7 separate regions of the Homo sapiens genome follow, and all the other regions are linked to region 1. The links are contacts of gene promoters, found by promoter capture Hi-C in blood cells and fetal thymus (Javierre and others, 2016). All regions are on one chromosome and are shown on one strand. The core of a region is centred on a gene start or on the middle of the fragment in contact, and the rest is flanking DNA. Distances in the headings are between cores, read along the strand shown.

The links. The method cuts DNA at HindIII sites, captures the fragments that hold promoters and counts their contacts. A CHiCAGO score of 5 or more calls a contact.
Region 2: the fragment with the promoter of ITGA4 here is called in contact with the fragment with the promoter of CWC22 in region 1 in 4 of 17 cell types (total B cells, naive CD4 T cells, non-activated CD4 T cells and 1 more); the score reaches 7.8 in total B cells.
Region 3: a fragment that was not itself captured here is called in contact with the fragment with the promoter of CWC22 in region 1 in 2 of 17 cell types (activated CD4 T cells and naive CD8 T cells); the score reaches 5.3 in activated CD4 T cells.
Region 4: a fragment that was not itself captured here is called in contact with the fragment with the promoter of CWC22 in region 1 in 1 of 17 cell types (monocytes); the score reaches 8.1 in monocytes.
Region 5: a contact is called between a fragment that was not itself captured here and the fragment with the promoter of CWC22 in region 1, in 8 of 17 cell types (total B cells, total CD8 T cells, non-activated CD4 T cells and 5 more). The highest score is 12.9, in total B cells.
Region 6: a contact is called between a fragment that was not itself captured here and the fragment with the promoter of CWC22 in region 1, in 2 of 17 cell types (total CD4 T cells and total B cells). The highest score is 5.2, in total CD4 T cells.
Region 7: a fragment that was not itself captured here is called in contact with the fragment with the promoter of CWC22 in region 1 in 2 of 17 cell types (non-activated CD4 T cells and monocytes); the score reaches 6.9 in non-activated CD4 T cells.

What each region holds. Positions count from the first base shown.
Region 1 is chr2:180,005,739-180,008,608 of GRCh38, forward strand. It overlaps CWC22 (CWC22 spliceosome associated protein), which reads right to left and starts at 1,559. Exons shown (of 20, transcript NM_020943.3): 1 at 1,129-1,559. RefSeq lists an enhancer at 707-1,239. The HindIII fragment of the contact is 3,569 bases long and covers 1-2,870 here.
Region 2 is chr2:181,456,026-181,458,725 of GRCh38, forward strand. ITGA4 (integrin subunit alpha 4) reads left to right here and starts at 1,361. Exons shown (of 28, transcript NM_000885.6): 1 at 1,361-1,826; 2 at 2,171-2,292. The coding sequence starts at 1,630. RefSeq lists enhancers at 868-977, 1,698-1,887, 1,948-1,997, 2,358-2,407 and a silencer at 1,158-1,547. The HindIII fragment of the contact is 9,740 bases long and covers 1-2,700 here.
Region 3 is chr2:178,109,692-178,112,391 of GRCh38, forward strand. No RefSeq gene overlaps it. Among named protein-coding and RNA genes, the nearest start is that of RBM45, 1.4 kb to the right of the region's middle. The HindIII fragment of the contact is 1,028 bases long and covers 937-1,964 here.
Region 4 is chr2:181,472,180-181,475,165 of GRCh38, forward strand. It overlaps ITGA4 (integrin subunit alpha 4), which reads left to right. Exons shown (of 28, transcript NM_000885.6): 3 at 2,781-2,887; 4 at 2,980-2,986. Among named protein-coding and RNA genes, the nearest start is that of ITGA4, 16 kb to the left of the region's middle. The HindIII fragment of the contact is 5,302 bases long and covers 1-2,986 here.
Region 5 is chr2:181,895,919-181,898,851 of GRCh38, forward strand. It overlaps ITPRID2 (ITPR interacting domain containing 2), which reads left to right. Exons shown (of 18, transcript NM_001130445.3): 3 at 112-161; 4 at 990-1,046. Among named protein-coding and RNA genes, the nearest start is that of ITPRID2, 5.7 kb to the left of the region's middle. The HindIII fragment of the contact is 264 bases long and covers 1,389-1,652 here.
Region 6 is chr2:181,714,591-181,717,290 of GRCh38, forward strand. No RefSeq gene overlaps it. Among named protein-coding and RNA genes, the nearest start is that of NEUROD1, 35 kb to the left of the region's middle. RefSeq lists an enhancer at 516-565. The HindIII fragment of the contact is 1,322 bases long and covers 656-1,977 here.
Region 7 is chr2:178,526,913-178,529,814 of GRCh38, forward strand. It overlaps TTN (titin), which reads right to left. Exons shown (of 363, transcript NM_001267550.2): 360 at 1,616-2,307; 361 at 1,362-1,515; 362 at 534-836; 363 at 1-395. The coding sequence ends at 100. All of the region lies in intron 1 of TTN-AS1 (TTN antisense RNA 1), which reads left to right. Among named protein-coding and RNA genes, the nearest start is that of TTN-AS1, 5.2 kb to the left of the region's middle. The HindIII fragment of the contact is 1,358 bases long and covers 780-2,137 here.

The DNA of each region.
Region 1 (2,870 bases), core at 309-2,808:
TGCCTCATCTGCATTATTTTTCTTTATACTCAAAAAAAGACAATACAGTGAGGCAGGTATTGTATTACTACCTACATGTTTCCAGATGATGAAGCTGACACTAGAGACTTTAGGTAACTTGCTCCAAGTGACAGACCTAATAATAGCTGGATAAAACAGAAATCTTTGGTCTACTAGTCCATCACCCAGGACCAACACAAGTGGCTTTCCTCCACCTACTGATAACGCCTGTAACAATGCTTCTCCTCTCCTGGTCAAAACCACACTTTTAATGTCAATTTTAAATCTGCCCTTCCATAGTAGGATGATAATTTATGTTAACTCCTGAATTCACAAGCAATCCTAAAACAAGGTAAGTCTAAATACAGATAAGAGGTAGGTTAACTGATCTGCTGAGAACCAAGTTTGCTTGCTTATCTGCTATTTCGAGTCTCTGCACATCTAAAAATGCAAAGGAAACTCTTACCTAATTCTTGCATCTAGAATAGCCTTTCTCCAAATCCTGCCTTCTCCACTTACCTCAGAAGAATTGTTAGGATTAAATGGAAATAGGTACCGTGGTTTTTGCAGTTAAACTCAGTGAAATTAACTATTATATTTCCGTTATATAATGCTGTGTTGTAGGACCCAGAGCTCGTTAGAGAGGTGGAGCCTGGAGACCCAAGTTTGGCAGTTATTACCTCACTGGAGATAGTTCAAGTTATGGAAGGATCAAGAATGACAGATGAAGCGGGCACATGAGAAGCGAAGTGTCTTCAAGACTAAACACTAGACACTATCAGTATTTACAGGGCAAATAAATGAAAAAGAAGACGCTAATGAAATTTAAAACAAATAGTCAAAGGGATATAATGCCGGCAAGAGGCATAAGAGTGCAAGTAATTCAACTAACTTTTAATCAACTAGATCTCATTAATCCCACTCCCCTGACCCTGGGACCCGGGCACTAGGAAAGGGGCTTTGGCAAGCCCCAATGGACTCCAGAGGCTCTAAGTATAAAACGCAGTGCACAAGAAACAACACAGCACCAGCGTTGGTGCAGGATTTCAGACAGCTCCAGGAACTTCACAAGGAAGGTCAGCCGGTCCGCTCAGGCAGTCAGTTCATGGCAGCCCATTCCCTCCCCACCTGCTTGGACCTAGCCGCTCTCACACCCCTCTTGCGGGCCCGAGCGTAGCGAGAAGACCCACGCACACTCCAATGCCGCTCACAGCCGTATCAGTGAGCCCGCACCCACTCCTGGGGGTCTTTTACTTCCCACCCGATCCGGCGACCCGCCACCCCCACTCCGCGTCTCTGCCTGCGGGGACTCCACGGAGTTCGATAATTACCTAGAGCTCCACCGCGCCGCCATTACACCGGACGTACGTCACTTCCTCTTCCCGAGCACCGACGGTAGGAAGAAGGCGAATAGTGAAATATTTAAAAACTTGACGCTCAATTGGCTTGACACGTTATCCCTTTAATTTATTTCAAATACCATATCATAATACCAGAGTCAAAGTAGTCGATCCAGGCACACTGTCTTGTTGCCAAAATGGCGACAAAAAAGAGAAGTTGGCATGAACTACAAAGTCCGAAATCCAGCGCCTGTGCTGACGGAAATGAGGAAAGCATAATTGTAGTTTAGCGTGAAATGGCGCGGTGTACGATGGGAATTGTAGTTCATACAGATGCGCGCCAGCGAGTTAACATCCACGCTGCTCACTGGCAGCCTAGTAGTGTTCAGGGTCTAGCCGAATTTACTTTAAAACTATTTCACTGCATTTTGGGGAAATTTTTTTTAAAAAAGCAGTCAGTTGTCACTTTCCTTGAAAAATCTTAAGAGAGAGATTTTCCTGAGACTTTATAAGAGTTTGACCAACAGTTAAGTGCCTAATAAATTCCAAGATATCCAGGCCATAAGAATGGGAGAATATTAAATCATAAATAGAGTGAAATAATGAGGAAAAACTAATTCTATAGAGACTGTGTTGCCTCTCTTTTAGGTTAAGGTACCAACTGGTATGACCTGAGAATAAAGAGATTGCCTGGCTGAGTAGGAAGTAGCAGTTTGTACAGCGTGCAGAACTAGGGCATCAAACAGTTTCTTTAAACTTCACTTTTCACTAGTAACAAAACCTAAAAGTTCAACTACTTGCTATTTTGGAAACTCTCTTCCTAAACCAAGAATATCTTTATGTTATCAAATCTTTCATAAACCAGGACTGGTTTCTCCACACACTTCTCTATTACAGTTTTAGGGTGCTGTGCTTCCACTCCTTTCTGGAGGCAGAGTGTGATGATTAAGAATAAAAACACTGCAGTTGGACTACTTATTTTGAATCTTGAGTCCTTTTATTATTTATGGATGACTGGGGCAAGTAACTTCACATTCTGTGGCCGTTTCCTGATCTGTTAAATGGAAATACCAATAGTATCCATCCAGGCAGTAGTTTTAAGAATTGAATTAGTTGATACACAAGATGCATTTAAGATAATTGCTAGTATACAATAGTGTTATCTATTTTATTTCATATTTAAGATATTTGGCCATTGTTGATGGTGCATTTTGGTGCACCAATACAGGGCACAGGAGATGGATCTGGAGATGAACATTTGTATTCATATATTTAAAAACCCACAATACTACCGGTGATGGTTAATTCTGAATGTCAACTTGATTGGATTGAAGGATGCAAAGTATTGATCCTGGGTGTATCTGTGAGGGTGTTGCCAAAGGAGATTAACAGTTGAGTCAGTGGACTGGGGAAGACAGACTCACCCTTAATCTGGTGGGAACAATCTAATCAGCTACCATCGAATATAAAGCAGGCAGAAAAATATGAAAAGGCAAGACTGGCCTAGCCTCCCAGCCTATATCTTTCTCC
Region 2 (2,700 bases), core at 111-2,610, 1.5 Mb after region 1:
TTCTTCTACCTGGCTCCTCTGGAGCCCTCCTTATTGCTCATCCCATTCTTAGCCTGATTCAAGATTCCTGGTCCTTCAAATCTCTCTTTAAGTGTCCTTACCTGGATCTTTCTCTAGTTAGTACAAATTTTTCTATCTACCATTGGAGCGAACATTTTTTGAAACTTTGTATCAGTCCTGCCTTACTCTTGGTGGAATCCTGTGGTCCTAGTCAAGTGCCTGCTCCATGAATGTGCTGAATAAATGAATAAGCATTTTAATTGTGTATCTGTCATTAGTGTCAGATGTGTTATTTATTCCAGCATGGTTTTAGCACACAGACACACTCTTTGATGCAGACTTTTCTTTTCTTTTTACATATAGCAACAATAAAAAACTAGACTTTCATCTCCTGAAAATATCAGTCTAATAATCACCTATGGCTGTCTCTCTGGTTGCTGAAGGAAAAAAAAAAAAAAGGCAGGGCACACCTGGATTGCATTAGAATGAGACTCACTACCCAGTTCAGGTGTGTTGCGTTGTGGGTCTCCGGCACATTTCAGAGGCTCATTAGGACCCTGACCCCACACTGGGGTTTACACCCCTAAAAGCAGGTGTGTCCCGTGGCAACTGAGTGGGTGCGTGAAAAGGGGGGATCATCAATTACCAGCTGGAGCAATCCGAATCGGTTAAAGTGAATCAAGTCACAGTGCTTCCTTAACCCAACCTCTCTGTTGGGGTCAGCCACAGCCTAAACCGCCTGCCGTTCAGCCTGAGAGGCTGCTGCTAGCCTGCTCACGCATGCAGCCCGGGCTGCAGAGGAAGTGTGGGGAGGAAGGAAGTGGGTATAGAAGGGTGCTGAGATGTGGGTCTTGAAGAGAATAGCCATAACGTCTTTGTCACTAAAATGTTCCCCAGGGGCCTTCGGCGAGTCTTTTTGTTTGGTTTTTTGTTTTTAATCTGTGGCTCTTGATAATTTATCTAGTGGTTGCCTACACCTGAAAAACAAGACACAGTGTTTAACTATCAACGAAAGAACTGGACGGCTCCCCGCCGCAGTCCCACTCCCCGAGTTTGTGGCTGGCATTTGGGCCACGCCGGGCTGGGCGGTCACAGCGAGGGGCGCGCAGTTTGGGGTCACACAGCTCCGCTTCTAGGCCCCAACCACCGTTAAAAGGGGAAGCCCGTGCCCCATCAGGTCCGCTCTTGCTGAGCCCAGAGCCATCCCGCGCTCTGCGGGCTGGGAGGCCCGGGCCAGGACGCGAGTCCTGCGCAGCCGAGGTTCCCCAGCGCCCCCTGCAGCCGCGCGTAGGCAGAGACGGAGCCCGGCCCTGCGCCTCCGCACCACGCCCGGGACCCCACCCAGCGGCCCGTACCCGGAGAAGCAGCGCGAGCACCCGAAGCTCCCGGCTGGCGGCAGAAACCGGGAGTGGGGCCGGGCGAGTGCGCGGCATCCCAGGCCGGCCCGAACGCTCCGCCCGCGGTGGGCCGACTTCCCCTCCTCTTCCCTCTCTCCTTCCTTTAGCCCGCTGGCGCCGGACACGCTGCGCCTCATCTCTTGGGGCGTTCTTCCCCGTTGGCCAACCGTCGCATCCCGTGCAACTTTGGGGTAGTGGCCGTTTAGTGTTGAATGTTCCCCACCGAGAGCGCATGGCTTGGGAAGCGAGGCGCGAACCCGGCCCCCGAAGGGCCGCCGTCCGGGAGACGGTGATGCTGTTGCTGTGCCTGGGGGTCCCGACCGGCCGCCCCTACAACGTGGACACTGAGAGCGCGCTGCTTTACCAGGGCCCCCACAACACGCTGTTCGGCTACTCGGTCGTGCTGCACAGCCACGGGGCGAACCGATGGTGAGTAGAGTTGGACTGATGCGCCCTCAGCAGCTCAGAGCGGCGTGAGAATGGCGCCCTAGGGATTCCCTGCCCGATTCAAACTTTCCTCCCTCCCAAGGAGGCAGGAGGGAAACGCTGCGAGAGCCAGCTCGCTGGAAATCTGCCAGGGAAACTAACTTATCTTGGGGCGGCAGCGCCCCGGGTGCGTTATGGTGCAAGGTCTTGGAGCTTCGAGTCGGGGGTGGTGGGCGGAGGAGGAGGTGGGGAAGCTGCCCTGCTGCGGACTGCACATCTGTGGCGACAGGGAGCTCAGTGGGCAGCACAGCTCACGTCTGAGCGCACGTGCACGTGTCTCGCTTTAGGCTCCTAGTGGGTGCGCCCACTGCCAACTGGCTCGCCAACGCTTCAGTGATCAATCCCGGGGCGATTTACAGATGCAGGATCGGAAAGAATCCCGGCCAGACGTGCGAACAGCTCCAGCTGGGTGAGTTGGGTATGGGACCAGGAGTTAGTGACCTCCCGACCCCCCATGTGGACCCCACCATAGGGCAAGTCCTGGAAAGATTCACGTTGCCTGTTACTTCTGGTTTAAAGAGCATAAAGTTTTCAGTTTCAACTCCATCTCATCTTGCCTCCTTAATATAAAAGGGATTCCCTTTCTGTTAATATCGTTCTCCCTTTTCCTTATGGCAATGATTGCAGTACTCTGACAACTATGCTAGAGAAATTTCTTATGATACCTTCTCTTCATCTCTCCCCGTCTCTCCGTGTGTAAAGCACATTTTAGACTCTCTCAGCGTATTAAGGACAGGATCCAGCTAAGCCAAGACTTGAGAATTTTATTTCCATCTTTGACCTATCAACCCTCTTAAAGAACAGGCTAAGGAGCATA
Region 3 (2,700 bases), core at 201-2,700, 1.9 Mb before region 1:
AGAAGAAGAATTATATCTCAATAAATCTGTTTAAAATAAATACATGTCATGAAGAAAATGTACTTACTTTTTTTAATTTATAAGTAAATTTCTAATTTTCCTTGAATATGTCATATTTCACATAATTGGATAGTAAAGAAATTTTGCTTTTCTGGCATTTTCCAATATTTGCGTTCCTGGTTTTGTTTTATGCAATCTTTTATCTTTTTTTGAGAAAAGAATTAACTGTTCTCAATAACAGCCTAAAATTTTCAGGACACCAATCAGTAGTCTTATTTCACAAAGAATAGAGATTGCCCAGTCAGGACAATTTAAGAAAATTACACATTTTCCACTAGATGGCACTGGTTTGCAAATAATATTGCTTTGCAGTTCCTCTCATCAACAAAACTCACACTATCAAATTATTTTCATTTACCTTGATTGTTGTGGGTAGGAAAAAGAGAAATGGAAAGTCAAGAAAAGATACTTCCTAGAGTTGTTCAGCCTCAGGGTAAACAGAACCCTCACTACAGATATGGAATGTAATACAAGGAGAAATTATAAAAATCTTAGTGCTAAATCCAGGGTGACAACCCACAATCCCTGACTCTCAGTAGTCATCACACAACTGTATAATATCAGTGGTGGGGGAGTGGATACCATAGTCAAAGGGAACAAGAAAATTAATCTCAATTATACCATTATACAAATATTATCTCATTTGATCTCTAAACTATGAACTCCATATATATTATCTTATATGAGCATAACTATATAAGGCTAAATGATTAACTCTGTGGGGGAAGAAGAGTAATTATTTTGTTCAATACTACATCCCTTCAGTATAACACAGTGCCTAACACATAGTAGATAGTCAAAAATACTTATTAAGTGAATGGGTGAATTAATTAAACTTGATAGTCATGCTCCTGCGTAGCTATTAGGCGGCTATCAAGCTTAACTAATCCAACCACAAAATAATATGTATTACCTATTTAGTAGGTAATATTATTCCTACTTTACAGTTAATGAAACCGAAGCTGCAAGTATTAAGTAACTTGTCCAGGCTCACACAATTCAGTAGCAAAACCATGTAACATAATCTGATATTACTTTGCATTATATATTTACATGTAAGATTTCCACAGTGGGGGAAAACAAGCCCTCGGGACATGTCTTTCCTGTTCCTCATTATATATCTAGCTCCTGGCATAGAGCCTGGCACACAGTTGGAGTACAATAAGTATTTATCTGGTTGACTTCATAGCAACCTAGGTCTTAGCATCCAGAACTTGTTCATTTGAAGAACTCCGCCCTCGGTCTACTTAGGGGTTTATTCCTTTCACTTCATTCCAATGCCACTGCTAAATCCAGGCCTTGTTTCTGGATTTCTACTGGGTTTCTGACCTCTCCTCTAAGGCTTGTTAACAAGAAGGCATTTCCCACTTTGCTTGCACTCTATGATTTCTCTTAGTTCCACAGCTGAGCAGTCCACCCTCACTGCCCTCCAACCCCAGGGTTGCTTGTAGAAGTTGAGTAAATCAACAGATGGAGTTAGTTCTGGGTTTTTTGTTGTTGTTGTTGTTGTTTGAGGTGGAGTCTCGCTCTATCCCCCAGGCTGGAGTGCAGTGGTGCAAACTCTGCTCACTGCAAGCTGTGCCTCCTGGGTTCACACCATTCTCCTGCCTCAGCCTCCTGAGTAGCTGGGACTACAGGTGCCCGCCACCACGCCAAACTAATTTTTTTGTATTTTTTTGGTAGAGACGGGGTTTCACCGTGTTAGCCAGGATGGTCTCGATCTCCTGACCTCGTGATCCGCCCGCCTCGGCCTCCCAAAGTGCTGGGATCACAGACGTGAGCCACTGCGCCTGGCCAAGTTAGTTCTGGTTTTAGTCGTACTTTTTATCTCTATTACTTTGGCTATGCTATAGGCCTCAGTTTCCTCATCTCTAACAAATGACGCTGAAATTGAATGATCTCAAAGCTTCCTTCCAACTCTAATGCTATATAGTTTGAACTCTGTCCTATATTGATCATCTATTGAGCTTATGACCAAGATGGTGACAACTCTCCACTTTGACCAAAACTTAGTTAGGCTCCTTTGAGTCCTCTGCTTGACTAGGCTTGATCTTGGGCTTTCTGTCCTTGTAGAATCCAATTTGAGCAAGAATCCTGCTGAATCAGTGTAGTGAAAATCCTCATTCTTGGTGTCTGACTACCATGGATATCAATCACCCTGGCCTGCCTTCAGCAACTATCCTGTCAAGTTGGTTTAGCCAGAATCCTCCTTAACACTGATGTTCCCTCTTTGTAATTTTCCATCCACTGACCTCCCACCAAGCTTCTTGGTTAGAAATTTGTCCTTATTAGAGTCAAAATTCAGTCCAATCTCTCTCTCCCACTGCAAGACCCCATTGCAGCTGTCCCTGGACCTATCTCCATGGCTCCCTTTGTCAAAGTCGGCCTTCCTGTACCATCTCTAACGAGTGTCATGAATAATTTTTTCTTTAACACTGGAAAGAATCCTTGGCCTTAGGGGTGGGGTAAAGCCAGCGTTGGGAAAGCCTGTGCATTAGGCAGCGCTGTTCTGCCTGCAGGGAACGATTGCACAACTGATAACTTGGGCCTAGGCTCAGCTGGATTTGAGGATTTGAGACTTAGACTGGGTCAGGGTCCCCCGCGTCGCCAGGGGGCGCTGCAGGCCGCTCCCCGGAAGGC
Region 4 (2,986 bases), core at 465-2,964, 1.5 Mb after region 1:
ATAGATAAGAGTTCATAATGCAAGAGTTTGTCTAGTCTTCACTTAGAAATTTACAAAACAGTTCAGCTAAGAAACCGATAACAATACACTATTTTTGCACATAATTTTTTGGCCATTTTCATTAAGCTATTTACATGGTACATTGTGGTTCTAAACTATTGTCTTTTTAATCTTCTGGGTGGCTCTCTCTAGAATAATAGATTTGTTTCTAAATATTGGATGTAATCGTAATGAAAGTGTCTATTATACACGCCATATTATTTGTGACCCCCATCCTCTCCTGTCCTTAATTTTCTTCTTGCTCAATTGTCTTAACTGAGTGTTGACTATAAATTCATAAAAATTTTAGTATTTTCAGAGGGAACTTATTAACATGGCTATTGTAGTAAATAACAGGAACTTCATGTAGACTGAATCTACCATTTGTTATCTATTTTTGACAGTAAACAATTGATTTTAGTGAAAACTGAAAATTGTATTATAATGAAAATTAAAATGCCTTGTTTGTCATTCTCTTTTAATTTAAATTTTGTTGGTTTGGCATTAGGTAGCCACAATAACAACTCCCTATTTTAGACCTTACCTATCTCCCACACACAATTTTTTTTCTCCTACCATCTTCCCTCTGTTTTCCCCTTCTCTTTTCGTGTCATTTCTCTCTTCATCCCTTCCTTTCTCAAGTTAACACGGAGACCTTATGTGTCCACCTGGACTGTTCTTTACCAAGGTTTGGGCCACAGCAAGACTCCTTTCCAATTCTAATAGCAACCATTGCCAATCAACCCCAGCATTCTTTGTCCAGACCTAGTCTTAGTCCTCCTCCCTTCAGTCTAGTTCTCCAGGAAGCCATTACCAGTTAGTGGGGGTTGCCATTTATTCTATGTGTATGCTGTCGAGAAAAACATTCTCTGCATTTCACAGTAACAGTGTTCCTGACCATGAGAACCACTTAGGGCAGGGGTCCCCAATCCCTGGGCTGTGGATGGGTACTGGCCCGTGGCCTGGTAGGAACTGGGCTGCACAGCAGGAGGTGAGCAGTGGACCAGTGAGCATTCCCGCCTGAGCTTTGCCTCTGTCAGATCAGTGGTGGCATTAGATTCTCGTAGGAGTGCAAACCCTATTACGAACTGCACAGCCGTGGGATCTAGGTTGTGCTTTCCTTAGCAGAATCTAATGCCAGATGATCTGAGGTGGAACAGTTTCATTCCAAACCTTACTACTGCCCATGGAAAAAATTGTCTTCACGAAACCAGTCCTTGGTGCCAAAAAGATTGGGAACCACTGACCTAGGGTAATCAGGGCCTCACCTGGATCTGCTGGAGCAGAATCTCCAGAGGAGGAGCTCAAACATTTTCTTCACTTCAGTTGTGATTAAAGGTTTTGTTTTTCCTGAATGACATTTTAGAAAACGAAAGTATAAACAAACATCTTCCCACACTCCTTAAACAAAATCTCTCCTACCCAGGAGACTTAGTGCAAATAATTTCACTTCTCAAATATTAGCCTTACCAGGCATAGTGGCTTATGCTGGTAATCCCAGCACTTTAGGAGGTCAAAGCAAGAGGATCACTTGAGGCAAGAGTTCAAGACCAGTATGGGTAACATAGTGAGACCCCCATTGGTACCAAAATAAAAATATTAGTTTGTATCTCTGTAAGTGTTCTGAGTTTGCCCAGGAAGCTACATTTAGGGGTCAACATTATAGGAGGAGACAAAGTGCCAATGATATAGAGAATGGTCACCATAAATTCATGAAAACTTGGTACCTAGTGACTAGTGTTCAAAATTAACAAACCGAAGTTCCACATCCTTATCCAATCAAATTGATGCTAATGTATTTATCTGCCAGGAATTAAGAACAGATGCAATAGAATTGTCATATGCCAACTGAAGAGGGTGAAAAGAAAGACAGCAAAAAGAATATTAGGATACTGCATCTTACTCTTCCCCAAAGTAACTTATTTAAAATTACTTAACATGGGATTTTAATAGGAACCCAGCTATAACACAAATAATTTTTTCTAACAAAAGAAAATAATGATCACTGTGAAGACCACTTCTTATATAGTATAGAAGTACTATCTAGTACATGAGCATTTTATTTATGTTTGGCTATTCATGCATTTGCCAAAGTATCTATTGAAGTTTTTTGTTTACTACTGAGATAATCTGGTTTCCAAATCACTTTTATCTCTGTTGAAAACATGAGTCATATTCCAATAAATGTAAACATAGGGCAGTTTCTTATAAACGCAAGGCATTATTGGTATGCTAATTGTATGTTCCACTTTCTGCATGCTTAATCATCACCTTCCAGCTCCAATAAATTGTACCTTAATTGCTGAGGATGTATTATAGTCTTTCTATTCTTAATATCTCAGTAGAAGAAACATTTTTAAAAGTGCTCTGATAATATTGCTTACGTTGTTAGATAAATGGCTAATTCTTTTCCAAACGTTAGACACAGCAGTTATAGTTGCACAACCTGGTATTAGCTTTAAGTGGTTTTCCCCACTCCTAGTCCTGTTAGCTATCTCTTATATGATTGAGTCTATCTTTTTATGGTGCTACCAGTCAGAGGTCATTTCTACAACCAAAGTCACCTTGTATTAGAGAATAATTAGTTGGCACAGAGTAATTCACATTTATCCTCACATTGTGCACTGAATATAAGATAGAGAAGTAGTTAACAGAAAAATACTGGGGATGAGTGCACAGTTTTCTCTTCTTTTGTAGAATGTTTTCAATACAACTGATAAAATTATTTTCACATGCTATAGGTAGCCCTAATGGAGAACCTTGTGGAAAGACTTGTTTGGAAGAGAGAGACAATCAGTGGTTGGGGGTCACACTTTCCAGACAGCCAGGAGAAAATGGATCCATCGTGGTAGGTATTGGAACTGGTCCACAGATCCATCGTGAAATCAGCTATCCTGGGTGCAGCTTTCACATCATTTGGTCTACTTTTATTTTATTCAGACTTGTG
Region 5 (2,933 bases), core at 271-2,770, 1.9 Mb after region 1:
AACTGTGATTAGAAGCTTATTGAGCTGTAACTCTTTAAGTAAGGCTGTGTAATGACAACTTTCCAAATAGCCTTTCACAAGACTAAGGCTTATACGTTTATATGGTTTCAGTACACCTTTGGGAGCCTCACTGGATGAACAAAGCAGTAGTACACTCAAGGGTAAGAGAAGGTTGCCTTTCTAAATCTGTTCTTTATGACAGTTCTACTTCTTTGTCCTCTGGGTAAAAGTGTATATATGACTTATAAAAGTGATATTCATGTTTATAGTATATGCTATTCTGAGCTAGAAGCAAAATGGAGAAACTTTGTTATAAACCGTAAAACAGTAGGGAGTTTAAGCAAATTGCCTAGCCTTTTCACAACGTGAAACTTATATCTTTATTGTCCAGTTAGGTATTATAAAGACTAATTAAATATGAATATATAATATGCAAATATAAGGAAAATACTTATTGAGTGAACAAAAGTTTAGTCAACTTTCGTGCAGCATTTCTTTGCTTACATTTACTGAAATTGCCACACCTAAAATTTTACCACCTGTTCAAGACAGAATTCTAAAGTTCAAAGTACAACAAGCATGTGCAGGCAGTGGCAAGGCATATAAAAAAACATTTACAGTGTCAGGAAAATCCAGCTCCTGACTTAATATGAGATGGATAAGAAGAATATTTGCTCCAGGATCTGGTTTTCCATGAAACTCTTGGTATGTAGTCTGATTGAACATCTTCAAAAATATAAGTTTAAAACAGCCTATAGGTTGGCTTCTGAGAACTTTATGTTGCTGGAAAAGTGGTTTCTTTACGTTAAAGTAAAAGCTTATACCTGCTTCTTGAAGTTATATAATCAGAATAATGTCTGAGTACATTCAAGTCTGAAAGATTTTACTGTATAAGATATTTTGCTGGGTGAATTTAACTAAAACAGTGATTTTATATGAGGGTGGAGAGGAACAGAACACCAGGATGAGTTTTCAAATGTGTCTTTCAGGTGTGCTTGTGAGAAATGGAGGAAGTTTTGAAGATGATTTGTCATTGGGAGCTGAAGGTATGTTTGTTTGGAAGAACTGTATTTTTGTGTAGTTTTCAAATTTAAAAAAAATGAGAAAGCTGAATGGTTTCAGGTTTATGATCCTCAAGCTAAATTTAAAGGTCTTGAAAATGGCTCAGGCATATTTTACATTACCTTTCTTTGTTAATAATCTAGTCATAGTCTGTAGGATACATGTAGGGATGACTCTGAAAAACTATGTGAAGTGTCCATCTGTCTTTCTTGGACTAAATGCTTAAAGGAACAGTTTGTAACAAACCGTGGTAATATAACTGAGGGAAGAATTGTCCTGAAAAAGGAAGGACACTTAAATATTTATACATGGGAAAACAAAATTGAAGCTTATTTTTAGCGCAAAATAGACTTATGTCATACTTACAGCTGCAGCTTGTCTTTCTCTTTGCATTTAAGTGTCTCCTGTCTTTTCCCCATTTTCCTGATTTTTAGAAAATTAAAGGGGAAAGACAAAATAGCAGAGCTAATAGAATTTTATTAGAAATCATGCTGGTGTTTATTCCAGAAAGCATTAGATTTTAAAAAGTGTGTTGTGCTATTTAAAAGTTTTTACAAGTTATGTAATGTTTTCCAGTAGATTTATAATAAAGCTTTCTTGTACAAAAAATAAGAATTTTTAATTATTTTACTGGTGTTTTAAAAGCTATTTTATAGCTCATTGATCAAATTGCATAGATTATTCATAGCTGTATAGCTCAGTTATTAATGTGTACTTTTTTAAAAAAAACAAGGATTTTTAAAAAGTCTTTAAAGCTTACAAGTTGGTGAATAGTGAATTTATACATTGAATTTAATATTCTTGATTTTTTCCTGTTTCAAATGCATCTGTAAAGTAAATTACTTATTTAGAACCTTCTAACATTTAAAACTCTGGAATATGCAAATATATTAGTTCTTATTATTTCTGTTCATATATTTTCAAGCTCTATAAAGAGCTTAAACTTACTGATTCCCACTCAGTACAATTGAACATGTTGTCAATCCGTTATTAAAATGCACTTTGCACTTTTGATATTTGCCTTGGTAGTTTGATAATATTGAATGATTTTATTGGAAACCAGAACCTAAAAAGGAGTCTCATGAAAGAGTAAATCTATTATGTTGTTTTACTGAAAATTATTTCAAGGCTATTTCCATTCATTAAGTAAATAATTACTGAGTGCTGTGAGTTAGGCACCTTTCTGGTGGATGTACAAAGAAACACAAAATTGTCATAACTTTGTAGATCAGAAATGAAAAGCAATTCATGTGTGCTGAAATAGATGTGTTTATAATTAATTTTATTCTTTGTATTTGTCTATAAATTTAACTTTAAACATTAACACTTACCTGTTTAGAACTTTAAGCTAAAGTTCTATCATAAAGTTGAAAGGCAATTTTTAAAAGAAAGTTTATATTGAAATAAGTAGAAATTTTCATGTTATATGTGTGAAAAATCAGTTATAACCTTAAAAAAAATTCACATTAGAAACTGACATATACTATTGCCACACTTAATGTTAAATCATGTTTTCCTCTTAAGATATTATTCATTAATAGCTTTTAAATTTAATAATTAGTACCACATATATGGTACATATCTTCCTCATTACTTATTTCTAACCTGTTAAAGAAATTTAACTGGTTCCCTATACGTTTTTTTATTTTAAGCACTCAAGTGAGAGTAGTTAGTTTCATGTTGCCACAACACAAAAACACCCTTCAAAAGCTCCTGGCCCTGTTCTTATCTATCTGTATATCACTTTTAATAATGCAGATTTAATGGACCAAGATAAGTGTTTAATATATTTGGCATTTAATTCTAATATTGTAGGTAATTAGATTTCTTGATAATTGTATCATAGTAGTTATAGTCCTACTAACAATTGT
Region 6 (2,700 bases), core at 67-2,566, 1.7 Mb after region 1:
ACATGATCAGGTCTATCTTTCTGAAAGATCACTCTAGATGAAGAGAGCAGATTGAGAGGAGCAAGCTGTGTGAAAGGGGAAACAGTTAACCTACTCGTGCAATACTGCAGGGAGGAGGTAATGGTGCTGTTGAACTTTACTGGTAGCAGTGGGAATGGACAGAGACAGACATGGACACAACTGAGACATTTAGGGATTAGAACAGATAGGACTGGGAGATTGATTGGGATGTGGAGTTTCTGGTACGGAAGGTTAAAATAGAAAGAAGGATCAAAGACGTCATTCAAATTTCTGACTTCGACCACTTGATGGATGGCTACAAATAGGGAACAAAGGAGAAAGTACAAGATTAGAGATGGAATTTGGCTTTCAGAAAATGCCACTGATGTACCTCAGAACAGCAATGACTGTATTTGTTTTCCGTAATTCCTTCTCCTAACTGAAAATTTAAAGATAATTGAATCAAATTGTTCCTTGGGTGACTTAGTTTTATATCTATACTTAACACAGGAATATCATTTCAAGGTGGCATTTCCTACAGATCTTCCCATAAGTCTGTGTATGTTCCTTAGACAGTGGTTTCAGAAATCACCAAATGATACAGGTAGAAAACATAGCTAAGCACGTGGCGCCATCTTCAGGACAGTTTGTTAAAAGCTTATAAACCAACCAGACTGAAAGGCAAGTTTCTCACAACAGAACACTGACTGACTCCATCTTGTTTGGTAATAAGGAGCTGAAAAAAATGTTTCTGCCAGCTCCAATTGTGTGACCAAACTCTTTGTCTTCATGAGAACTGTAGTTTATCACAGGATATAGAAAAGATGGTAGCAGATTTTTCTTCAAAATCCTTCCAGTTTGAAAGTGTCTGTGAGCTGGAAAATGAGCTTTTGCTGTGGAGGAGACAAGAAACTATGGCACCATCCCTTCAGGTTTTTTGCCTTGGTATTCAGATTCTCTGGTGATTTTCCCATTTTAGATATTTATGTTCTGTTCTTTACTAGGTGCTTCATTAAATATGTGGTCAAGTGGAATTTAACTTATAAGCATTCACAATGCTTTACAAATGCATGAATATAAAAAGTAGGGGGGAAAACATTTGTCAGATTTTGTACCCAAGGTTTTGGTTCAGGGAAAGCAGTCTTATAGATTTATACAGTCTCCATTTTAAAAATAAAAGGTTGTTAATAAGAAATCAATAGTAGACCCATAGCTAACCACATAAGAAAGACAAATAGAGCTTACTAGATGACTTTTATTTTTCAAATCCTCTCAGCTTGTAATTATTCTATTTGAGTAAGCTCCACCTTTTCTTTGTGCAGAGTTGGGCTATAAAGACACACACATATACATGTGTTTGTCATAATGTATCTGCCACCTTTCTGTGCTGGATGTGGTGTTTAACCTACACTGAGCATTTGGCATGGCCTCGCTGAATAACTGGGAGGTAAACTGCTTGGCTTTTACATGGAGGCAAATGCTTTCTACCATCTTGCAGCATTCACTCACAAATGGGCTTTCTTTCTAAACTTTTCTCATTAGAATGTATGCCTTGGGTTGAGGAATCTTAAATCCCAGAGTTCCTTTCAATCCTGAAAGAGGTAACATGTTAAGCTAAATTCCATTTCTGTATAAACTGAGGCCCTGGCCGCCCCATCAATGATGGGTTTGGGTTTCCTAGAGTCTGAATGGGGCTTATGACAGGTGGGCAGAAAGAGGGTATACACAGAAGGTATAGTATCTTATAGTAATTACGTGTTTACAACAGACCAGGTGCTTTACATGGGTTATTTCACGTAATCCTCATAACAACCTATGGACACTTTTTAAATGAATGAGTATTTTTAATATCTGTATTTTACAGATCAGGAAACAAAAACAGAGAATGAAATAATTTGCCCAAGGTCTTACACTCTCCTTTAAAGTAAACTTATAGAAATGAATTCTAACTCAGGCATTCACCCTCTAAACCCGACAAGCTTGATAGAAACCTCAAACTACCCTTAAATTGAAAATATCCTTATGGCACAGACCTGAAATAAACCTCCAATCAAGAATCAAGCCAATAATTCAGTAGAAGATTCAGAGAGCAAAAGATTTGGAACTGAAGGCAGAGGGCAGAACCCGGAATGATTCTCTGGAGTGCAGAAGTTCTTTTTAATGGTTCGAGAGTCTTGGAACTGCTTGGGCCACATGTGACAACACAGGTCCTTGAGACTTCAGAGGGTGAGTGTGGGAGAGACTGGCACTGCCACAGATGAGCCTGGAGGAATCCGGGAATTTACCATTGTCCTCTTCACAATTGTTTTTAGGATCAAGCCTAGAGATAAAGAGCCATGGTCTCTGAAAATAATGTTGAAAACACACTTACAACACAGCAGAAGCAGAAATAAATGACATATTTCACTCTGTTCATTCAGGCAGAGGTGGGTGCACAGAACATGGTGCTGCAATGGTCTCCTGAAGCTGAGGCCAGCTAACAGGCCCGCAGGCAAGTCAATGGGATGACCAGCAAGTGGGTGGCACCAGCAACAGGGACAAGCATACGGCTTAGAGTCTGAAACCCTGGTTCCAGGCTGAACACTGTCACTGACTATATGACTCTGGGCAATTCATTTAAATTATCTGAACTTTAATTTACTCAGCTGAAAAATGGCTGTAATAGCCACCAAATAGGATTGTTGGGGTATCAGAGAAATC
Region 7 (2,902 bases), core at 209-2,708, 1.5 Mb before region 1:
TTTTTTTTCTTTAAATATTTACAGTTCAGAAAGATTAGTCCGTGTGAAACGTTTGCGAAAAGTTAAGAATGAGTGTAGAGTATAAGGGCACAGGCCCTCTTAAATGGATCGAATATGTATATTCACAGTGGCAGAGTCAGATCCAAATTCATTCCCTAAACTCAGGGTATAAAGTCCACCATCTTGTTTCTGTACGTCCATGATGATCAGGGTTGTCAGGTCATCTGTGTTTTCAATGTGGAACCTCCCCTGTTCTTGACTGTGGATTTTTCTTCCACCACAGGACCATGTTACTTCTGGGGTAGGCTCACCCGTGAAAGCACAGGCTACTGTTAGAACTTTGCCTTCATCAATGCTGATATCAGATGGAAGAGCTTCAATTTTAGGCGGAATTCCTTTATGGAACAATGACAAAAAAAAGGTCTTAGAATCACTGAAAAAAATAAAGATTTGCTTTCTACTGAATTGTGTGTACTAAAGACTACACCATGTTACTTGGCTTGTCTACCTCTACCAGTAATTTTATTGCTCACCTCTTATGCCTGCTTTAAGCATTTTACTAGTTGAGCTTTCCAGTTGTGTCATATTAGATATTCCCATAAAGCTGCTGGAACTCATTTCTACAAAGGACTCTTGCATGGAGGACATGCTTTGGGCAGACATGCTTGCAAATTTCATCTCAGTCATGCTGCTAGCACTGCTGCTGCTGAAACTGCTGAAGGAGGCCTCCTGCTTGGAGGCAGACATTTGGACTGACTGAGACGAGAAGCTTCCTTGCAAGCTTGTGTCACCACTTGTTCTCAATACTACCTCTCTGGAAGGTTCTTCAACTAGAGCTGTGGAGCATAGCAGATACACAGTGAACATCAATGACATCTGGTTAATTGATGACATATGACGCTGACTTACAGAAATGGAAACTTCAACACACACACAGCAGCATAACCCAAACAATTTGCTGTTGAAGCATAAGCAAATACATATATACATACATTTGTCAAGAGCTAGCTCAATGTCTCCAAAACATGAATCCTTATATTTCTATCATTACATTACATGCAGGTGCTAGGAATCACTAGGAGAAAAATGATTAGTCATATAGAAAGTAATTGACATATTGTGCATCCTGCAAATAAATGTTACACGGCAGTTGGTAGCTTTACTTTGAAATGTAATCTATCCAAGTTTCTGTGTAGCTATAAAGAAAGTTTGACTACAAGAATGAATTCACATCAGTTGGCTGTCCCTCTTTCACATGGAATTTAATAAGGCTTCTTAGAGTTTTCTGTGCTTGAAAGAGAGGCAAAAAAACGATCTAAAGGCCTTAAACATGTAAGGAAGAAGGGTGAGGAGATACTTACGAAGGACCATTAAGGAAGCTGTAGCTGAACACTGGCCACGGAAATTTTTGGCCTTAATTGTGTACTTTCCACTGTCGCTGACTGATGCATTTCGGATTTCAAGGGAGTATACATTTCTGGAGCGGCTTATGCTGACATTTGAAGAAATAGAAATCTAAGACAAAGGAAAAAGAAAAGAAATGTTGAAGTTCTTCAGATGTGGAAGACATGGTATTTTAGTTTTTCTTCAATAATATATTCATAATTAAACTTACTGGCAGGTTGTTTTTAAACCATTCGATTTCAGGGGATGGCTCGCCACTGATTTCACAAGTAAAGAGAACATTTTGTCCTTCATTAATATTTTGAGATCTAGGCTGTGAGATGAAGGCTGGAGCATCTGAGAGTTCTTTGCTCAGTGTCAAATCATACTGACACTTGACGATTCCTTCCTTGGTTTTGCTTATGCAGGTGAGGATTCCTTCATCTCTGTGACTGGCTTGCTTGATGGTTAGGGTCTGATCGCTGCCTGAGACACCATATCGGTACTCCTCAGAGTTGGTAAGCTCTACGCCATTCAGTACCCATTTCACATCAGTGGCACCAGCAATGTTGGCTTTTAAAACCAGTCTTTGACCTTCGTTTATGCTCATCTGAGTAGAAAATGCTTTAATCTCAGCATGAGTTCTGACTTCTTCTGATGCCTGTGATGTTTTAGTGATTTCCTCATGGACAATGGATTTTTCCAGGGAGGTTGCTGCTGATTTCTTGACTTCTTCAGAAATCAGAACCTTTGAAGCTTCCTCTTTGAGGGCTAACTTTTCTTGAGATTTTGCCTCTGACATCTTAATTTCTTCAGACCTTAGGGCTTTTTGGGAAATTTCCTCTTGGACAACAGCTTTCTTCTGAGGTGTAATTTCAGAAGTCTTTTGTGTAGAGACTTTCTGTGCCTCAGTATCTTTTATAGCTAAAAAAGAAACCTCTGTAAGGCAAACTTAATTAGAAAGAGACCCCCACCTTTTACTCTTCTAGATTCTGCGTGTGAAAAACATAAAAAGAAAAAAAGTCAACTTCTTCATGCAATGTAGGTAATACCTAATACTTTCTCAGTTCCACTTTTGGAAAATTATCATGTGTGACTTTTGAGATCACTGTAATGATTCCTTAAACTAAACTGAGCCAAAGATGATTCATATGACTTAAGGAAAAAAGTCTTGAAAAGAATAGTCAACGGATTTAGGAGATAAGTGGATTTGGGAGATTTTGAGTAACCAAAACATTAAATTATCTTTCAGAAGATTGAAATGAAAGCAAACTAATTTTAATTGGTAAAATAGAAATAGTTCTTTAATTAACTTTGCACTGCTTTGGAAAATTAGCAACTGTGAAGGTTTAGGCAAGTAGTGCCATTTTGTATATTCACTGACTTTATTCTTAAATATTCCTGGGAGCAGGGGCTGACACTATGGAATCTTATATAATACCACATATAACTAGGTACTTAATAACTGCTTTTTATGCTCATAGAAAAGCATATGCTAACTTCAAATGTGTGTTTCTGC